2 separate regions of the Homo sapiens genome follow, and region 1 is linked to region 2. Evidence: promoter capture Hi-C in 16 types of primary human blood cells and fetal thymus (Javierre and others, 2016). All regions are on one chromosome and are shown on one strand. The core of a region is centred on a gene start or on the middle of the fragment in contact, and the rest is flanking DNA. Distances in the headings are between cores, read along the strand shown.

What was found. The method cuts DNA at HindIII sites, captures the fragments that hold promoters and counts their contacts. A CHiCAGO score of 5 or more calls a contact.
Region 1: a contact is called between a fragment that was not itself captured here and the fragment with the promoter of THAP3 in region 2, in 3 of 17 cell types (total CD4 T cells, activated CD4 T cells and naive CD8 T cells). The highest score is 6.4, in total CD4 T cells.

The regions. Positions count from the first base shown.
Region 1 is chr1:6,223,448-6,227,557 of GRCh38, forward strand. ICMT (isoprenylcysteine carboxyl methyltransferase) reads right to left here. Exons shown (of 5, transcript NM_012405.4): 5 at 1-1,815. The coding sequence ends at 1,633. Among named protein-coding and RNA genes, the nearest start is that of ICMT, 10 kb to the right of the region's middle. The HindIII fragment of the contact is 2,283 bases long and covers 470-2,752 here.
Region 2 is chr1:6,623,378-6,627,336 of GRCh38, forward strand. THAP3 (THAP domain containing 3) reads left to right here and starts at 1,491. Exons shown (of 6, transcript NM_001195753.2): 1 at 1,491-1,577; 2 at 1,773-1,915. The coding sequence starts at 1,842. PHF13 (PHD finger protein 13) reads left to right here. Exons shown (of 4, transcript NM_153812.3): 4 at 1-653. RefSeq lists a silencer at 1,882-2,291. The HindIII fragment of the contact is 4,820 bases long and covers 147-3,959 here.

The DNA.
Region 1 (4,110 bases), core at 361-2,860, 400 kb before region 2:
CTTTGGTATATATAACAATGAAAAAATTCATTAAGCCATGAAATCTAGAAATAAGTCATATTTCTGAGTTGATAAAATGCTTTTCTGAACATACATTTTAGGTATCTGGCACAATTAACCAAATGTCTGCCCATTTTTGTGTAGCTTTCATACAGTACAGATTTCATTGATGTCGCTCCCACATCTGAGTATTAAAAACATTTGACATTGTTCTTCTCAGTCCTCACAACACCCCTGTGAGGTAGGTGGTATTGACCCCATTCCACAGATGGGGAGGTCTAGGCACGGAAAGGTTTAGTGGCTCCTCACAGGCCGCGTGGTGGGGCAGCAGAGTGGTGCTCTGGCCCCGCGCCGACGCCGCCTTCACATTCACACTTCTTCAGTGCCACCGCAACACTGCATGGCAGGATCTCACGCTGAGGCCAAGTTCCTGTCTAGTCCAGAATGAAGCCAGCGTCTCACCTCTTAAAGCTTCGATGTGTGACTCAAAGCCAACTTACTCTCCCAAACTTGCAAAACAAACATACTGACTGAATCTTAGTTGGGACTATTTGCAGTATTTAAGATTATTTTTGAGAGTCAATCTGCTTGGATTTGTAGTTGTATATGCTCAAATCCCTTTGGAAAACAGTTTGAAATGACATGAGGGACAATGTAATTTTGAGAACAGAACACAGAAAACAAGAGTTCTGAGACTGGCATTGAAATTGAGAATATAAGCTATGGTAAAATGAGAATCAAATCCCAAATAAACGGAGAGCAGCACTTCTCAATGTTTAAGGCCACGCACAGGGCAGGCATTCAGTAAGCACTTCTTGGATCAAAAGAAACTGATGCTCCTTTGAGCCGCCTATCACTGACAACAGGAGCTGAGACCCCCGGGAAAGCCAGCCAGGGCCATGATCCCCTTGGCCTGGGGCCACGGTCACACAAAGCCACTCAGCCAAATCGTGTAGAGTTATCTAGGCTTACTTGCTGCAGGATAAAAGTTGAACTAGAACACCAAGCATTGAGCTAGGAATACCCCTTTGAATGTGTACTGCTACTTATAAAAAATAGGTATGTAGCTATGATTAAATAGATGAAGGGCCAAAGCATCCTATGAGGAAGTATTTTTAAAATTGTATAGATGTTCATGCAGTGGGGGACAGAAATAAAGAGGTTAAAGCGGTCTGTGTTTTTCGGTTAAATGAAAGGTTGTAAATGCATTTTTACCGCTGATAAGAAGGGGTACCTGCTACCCCTTTCTGCTGTGGAGTGTTGCTGAGGACAGAGTCCATCTCTCCCAGCGAGTCCTGGTTATCCTTTACTTACACTCTGGCCTCGGGGGCAGTGGCGTGTGGCCTCGGTCCTCCCCAGGTAACTCTGGAGGGCGCTGTGGAATATTGCTGTGATTTGCCCCTTACTCGTCTTTCACCCATGTTCCGCCTTGATTCGGCATAAGGACAGACTGCTCCAGTGGGGCCTTGGGTCCTCAGGCCTTCTGACCGCTTGGTCTTGAGTGACATTCCAGAAGAGTGACTAATGACATAAAACGATTAAGAAAATCCATGTGGCAGCGGCCAACCGGAAACAGTTTTGTCCCAGGCTGCACAGGGTCGGAGGCCCCAAGGTCACCGGGGCCACTGCCCGTCACAGGTCCACCTTGACCCCCTTTATGAAAGGCAGGCCCGTGGGCACCCTCTTCTTATACTCCAGGTACTCCTCTCCAAAAAAGTGAATTAGTGAGATTTCTTCTTCTTCTGTTCGATCGCGGAAGAATCGCCACACTGTCAGGGCATAGCTGACGCCGCAGATGGGGTTACACAGCATCACCTAACAGAGGGAGACACCAGGCTCATCAGGGTGACCGTGGGATGACGCCCTGTGCTTTGGTAGGCGTCTGTCTCTAATACCCAGAGGATTTCTGTGCCCATGCCCTGCTGAGACCGTCAGGGTCTCTGGGAGCAGTACTGTCACCTTAGCCCTGAGCACTCAGTGCTGCAGGCCTTTCTCACGTGCTTTCCTGTTGCTCCTCTTACATGAGAGAGATCTGTAAATCACAAGATCAACCTCTTGGATTTCAACCCTCAGCTTGGGGTGACAGCAATGCCCCCCACCTCCAGGTGTGAGCTCCCCAACATGAGGTCCCATGCACGCTGCCTTCCTGCCCAGGACCCTCCCACCACAAATGCATTCGCTTACACCACAGCTGCCTGGGCCTCTGCCTCCTAAACCCACAGCCTCTGCTTCAGCACGAGATACAGTGCCACAAAACTCAGCTTCCGAAATGCCCCTTCCAGCAGATTACCTCCACGCTCAGAGAGCTCCAGAGACTGAACCCCACCCCCTGAGTCTGGGTTTCCAACCCCAGAAGAGCAGCACTTCGCCCACTTCCCCAGTCTCCTGCCCTCCCCACGCTGTGCCCACTTTGCCTCTTTTTTTTCCCCCGAGACAGATTGTCACTCTGTCACGTGGAGTGCAGTGGCGTGATCATGGCTCACTGCAGCCTTAACTGCTTGGGCTCAAGTGATTCTCCCACCTCAGCCTCCCAAGTAGCTGGGACTAAGGGCACATGCCACCACACCCAGCTAATTTTTGTATTTTTTGTAGAGATGGGGTTTCACAATGTTGCCCAAGCTGGTCTCGAACTCCTGGCCCTTTCTTCCACCTTTAAGAACATCCTGGCCAGGTACGGTGGCTCATGTCTGTTAATTGCAGTACTTTGGGAGGCCAAGGAGGGCAGATCACCTGAGGTCAGGAGCTTGAGACAAGCTTGGCCAACATGGCGAATCCCCGTCTCTACCAAAAATAGAAAAATTAGCTGGGCGTAGTGGTGGGAGCCTGTAATCCCAGCTACTTGGGAGGCTGAGGCAGGAGAATTGCTTGAACCCAGGAGGCAGAGGTTGCAGTGAGCTGAGATCGCCACTGCATACCAGCCTGGGCGACAGAGCGAAACTCCCTCTCAAAAAAAACAAAGAACATCCTTCCCACTGATCTCCAGCCAAACAGTCCTTCAAGGCCAAAAGCATTCCCCAGCTCCTCAGGGAACCACTCACCTACACCTGCCCACTGGTCCCCTGTGGATGTGCATCTTCCCCAACATACATTTTCTGTATGTTTTCTGAATATATATTTTAGGCTCCAATACAGCCACCCGGAGAGCCAGGCTCATGTCCTGACCTCTCACACCTTCTCTTATTGAGCACTTACTATGTTCCCAGCGCCATGCTAAGCCCTTTACAATCATTACCCTGTTCAACTCTCATGGCAAACCTTTGAGGGCACGCTACTATCCCCACTTTGTTTTTTTTAAAATTTTATTATTTTTTAAAGACAGGGTCTCACTATATTGCCCAGGCTGGACTTGAACTCTTGGCCTCAAGCCATCCTCCTGCCTCAGCTTCCAGAGTAGGGGGAACTACAGGCATGTGCCACTATGTCTAGCTGCCCCCACTTTAACATGAGAGGAGAAGGAGGCCAAGCAGTGAATGTCAGAATCAGGACTGGCCCAGTCAGTGACTCCGGGGCCTGTACCCTCACATCTGGCATAGCTTGCTGGGGATACCCTACAGTGGGAGTTCTCTATAGCAGGCTGCAGCCTGTTACTAAGCCATGAAATCATTTAGTACATTATGAACAGTATTGAAATAATAAGATAGAAAACAGGATTTTGTAAACAGTAAGTGTAAGTATTATATCAGGAAAGACATGTTCCTTTCATACACACACAAGTGCTGGAGCACAATGTAAAAAAAATCTATGGGCAAAAAGGTATGGAAAACCCTTTGGTTCTAGTGCACACACATATACAGGAAGCAAGCATTTATGGCAAATTACATTATTCAGTCATAACTAATTTGTTCCCAGGGAAGGTGATTGTTAATGTGGCGGTTTTACATGTTTCAGAAACAAAAATTGTAAATGCTATGTGATCATTTGCCCCACCTATACCGTTAGGGGTCACCAGAGTCACCAAGGACCATGCATTGCTGATGGGATGCCTGAGAGATCTCTGGATTTGCCCAAAGACTTGGAGACTTTTCCCAAACACTTCGTGAATTTTCCAAGATCTATTCACATTCTTTGGCCAAGTTTTTCTAGGACCAAGAGTAAAGAATCAAGAAACAG
Region 2 (3,959 bases), core at 241-2,740:
GAAACTGACGAGGGCAAACAGCCAGGACGCATTGGAGAGGAATTTGCCAAAGATCTACCCTGAGATAACGCCTGTCCAGTGTCTTCACCACGTGAATAACCAGCGCTCCAAAGTGTTTTTCTGCTTTGAAAAAAAAAAATTCCACAAGCTTTTAAAGGTGCATTTAAGAATCCATGTGACTTTAGAATGGAACTGCCGGCCCTGGCAACTGTCACGTGTGCTAGAAGGTTCGATGCCTCTGGAATGCATGTGATACTCATCTCCATTTTGTTTCCTTGATTGCATTTTTGTTCTTTTAGCAGATCTGTCCCTGTGGGTGGTGTCTAAGAAGTCGGACACCTTGGTTTTTGTGTTAGATTGAGCTGGGCAGCTGCAATCAGCTTCTTTATATGCAAATTAGGCACGACCCATCTGTGGTTCCTGGTTGGTGGCTAATGAAGTGAGGGGAGGGAGGGATGTCACCCCAAAAGTAGGCCCTCCCATTGGCTTTGGCCAGGCCAGACACTTCACATCGTTTACATGGTTCTGTGTAATTTTAAAGTTTATGTGTATAAAGCGAAGCTGTTTCTGTGAAACTGTATATTTTGTAAATAAATATATTGCTACTTTGAGGTTCATGATTCAAGGTTCAGGCGATTGCGTTCTGTGCTGAAGGACAATTGTGTTTCTTTTCTCCTTGCTACCTCCCCAAAGCATGATTACATCAAGTCTCTGGGAAGGCAGCGTCTCAGTGTGCACTTAGCAGGATGGAAAATGCCCACGGTGTTAAGGTACCTTGCTGGTGAATTCCTTAGAAACAAACCACAGGACGAGTAGATGTGAATGGTTTTTGCAGTTTCTTCATCAGATTGAGGATTAGCTCAAGCCCCAGTGAGTGGTTAGCCTACTTTTGATTTTTTTTTTGTTTTTGAGACTTGAGTTTCGTTCTTGTCACCTAGGCTGTGAAGTGCTGTGATGAGATTTTGGCTCATTGTAACTTCCACCTCCCGGGTTCAAGAGATTCTCCTGCTTCAGCCTTCCGAGTAGCTGGAATTACAGGTGCCCGCCACCATGTGCGGCTAATTTTTGTATTTTTAGTAGAGATGGGGTTTCACCATGTCGGTCAGGCTGGCCTTGAACTCCTGATCTCAGGTGATCCGCCTGCCTCGGCCTCCCAAAGTGCTGGGATTACAGGCGTGAGCCACTGCGCCTGGCCGATTTTTTTTTTTTTCTTCTTACAAGATGACGCCTTCCCTATAGGCTGCTTTGAGAAAGCTGCAGCCTCGGAGTTTCTGCAAGGCCTGAACTGGAATCTCCCTCCCCTTCAGTTGCCCTTTTTGCCTCTTCACGTTTGGGGGTTCCCTGTGACCAAACTTAAGGGCAGTGAGCTGTCTGGCCTCTGAACTGACACCACCAGTGGCCAACTAGTACCACCTCCAGTGACGTCAGAGGAGTCCAGACCTATTCACAATTCAAAGCCCTAAAAACACTGAGGGGTTGGCCGTTGGTTTCCAGTTGTCCAAGCCTGTGAGTGGCTATGCGTCCTGGTTGGGTGCTCAAAGCAAGGAGGTGAAAGGCGACCAGCATTGGCGAATGGGGTAAGACTTGCACAGGCCCAAGGCTAGGAGTTGGGGTTTCGGGCCTGAATTGGGGCCCGGAGCACCCCTTTACGTGGCGCCCCGGGTCCCGTCCGACCCTGGGGAGACGCGGGTGGCTGGGATGGCAGGATGAGCGCGCCCTGGAGGCGAGCCAGGCCCGTCACCACCTCCCAGCGGCCCCGCCCCTCCCCGCAGGTCCCTCCCCTCTCCGCAGGCCCCGCCGCCGCCGCCATCTTTGTTGGGGGCAGCCAGGCCTGGCTCGAGATGCCGAAGTCGTGCGCGGCCCGGCAGTGCTGCAACCGCTACAGCAGCCGCAGGAAGCAGCTCACCTTCCACCGGTAAGAGGCGGGGACCCGGGGGCGCGGGAGGCCCAGACCCGGGGCCCGCGGACCGACTCCGAGGCCTTGGCGCGCCGGGCGGGAGGCCCAAAGGCGTGCGGCCGCTGGGCCCGGGGACAGGCCGAGGTCCTGGGCCCAGAGGGGCTGGCGCCGCCGCGCCCGCCGCGGGGATGCGGGGAGTGGCGGACGGAGGGGCAGCGGCGCACCTGGCGGGGCCAGGGCCGGGACGTGCAGGGAGCGGAGCAGGTGTTTGCTGAACAGACTAGCGGGCCGCGGCCGGGGTTTGCTGTGTCCCTGGTCGCTGCAGCCCCCGCCGCGCGCGGTCCTGAAGGGAGCCCGGCACCTGGGCAGTGCAGTGGAGGAGTGGAACCCCCAGGGGCGTCCTGGCAGTGGGAAGGGACTCTGCAGGGTCGCGGGAGGACGCTGGAGACTTTGGAGTCTGCTCCAGCACTCGCCCGGCCCGGCCCGGCCCGGCCCAGGAGCAATCGTCATTAGTCACAGTTGCGCTTTCTCCAAGGTCCAGTCACGGCACCATTTCTCTACCCACTTTTGGGCACATTCCGAAGGGGGGCTTGTGCTCATCGTTCCCATTCCCTCTGCTCCCATTGTTCTGTTTTGTGATAAATGCTTTGCTTGAAGTATACGTAATGTACATGCAGAAAAATGCACGAATCATAAGTATACAGCCCAGCGAGTTTTCCCCAAGTGAACGTCACTGAACTGAAACGTTACCAGCTGGGCGCGGTGGCTCAAGCCTGTCATCCCAGCACTTTGGGAGGCCGAGGCGGGAGGATCGCTTGAGCCTGGGAGTTCGAGACCTGCCTGGGCAACAGAAGGAGACCCTACCTCTACAAATAATTTAAAAAAATTAGCCAGGCAAGGTGGTGTGCCCCTGTAGTCCCAGCTGCTCGGGAGACTGAAGTAGGAGGATCGCTTGAACCCAGCTTCGAGGCTGCAGTGAGCTATAATCTTGCCACTGCACTCCAGCCTGGGTGACAGAGCGATACCTCATCTCAAAATAAGAAATAAAACATCACTACCCCCGAGAAGAACCCCTACCTGGACCCCCTCCCAGGCCCTCCTCCTCTCTCCTGCCCAAAGGGAACCCTATCCTGCCCGCTATCAGAGTGGATTGCAGTTCATTCGCTTTCGTTGCCACATAATATTCCATTGAATGCAAGTGCCAGAATTTACTGATTTGTTCTACAATTGAAGGGCATTTGGGTGGCCCCATTTTTTGGATGACAAATACATGGTTCTGGAGGCTGGGCGTGGTGGCTCACGCCTGTAATCCCAGCACTTTGGGAGGCCGAGCTGGGTGGATCACCTGAGGTCAGGAGTTGGAGACCAGCCTGACCAACATGGTGAAACCCCGTCTCTACTTCTCTACTACAAATACAAAAATTACCCGGGCGTGGTAGCGCGCACCTGAAATCCCAGCTACTCAGGAGGCTAAGGCAGGAGAATCACTTGACCCTGGGAGGCAGAGCTTGCAGTGAACCGAGATCGCACCACTACACTCCATCTTGGGCAACAGAGCGAGACTCCGTCTCAAAAAACAAAACAAAACAAACATTGTTTTGGCCAGTTTTGGTGGGACTTGTGTTGCAGTGCATCTATCTGTTTTGCCTCTGTCAGGTATGTACTTGGGGATGGAGTTGCTGCGCCTTCTCTCTTGAAGTCGTTTCCTCCACTCCCACGAGAGCTCTGTCACATCACTAGTGAGCCTTGTGACACTGATCGATTGCATAGCATTTCACACAACTGACCCCTGAGCCTGGGTCACTTTTCCCGCATGGCGTCTGGTACACTTCTTGGCCACAGGTGTCTCTTCTCAGTCTCCTTTGCTGGATCCTCCTTATTTCCAGCACTAAGTGTTGGAGCCCTGGGGTGTGGGCCATGGCCCAGGGGTGGCTTCTAGCCACACTTGCTCCCCAGGGGCCCATCTCACCCAGGCTTATCGGTTCCGCAGGGTTGGCCGCCACACTGACATCTCCAGATGCGTGTGGCCGCCTGTCACCCCAGCACATGGAGAGCCTAAAAA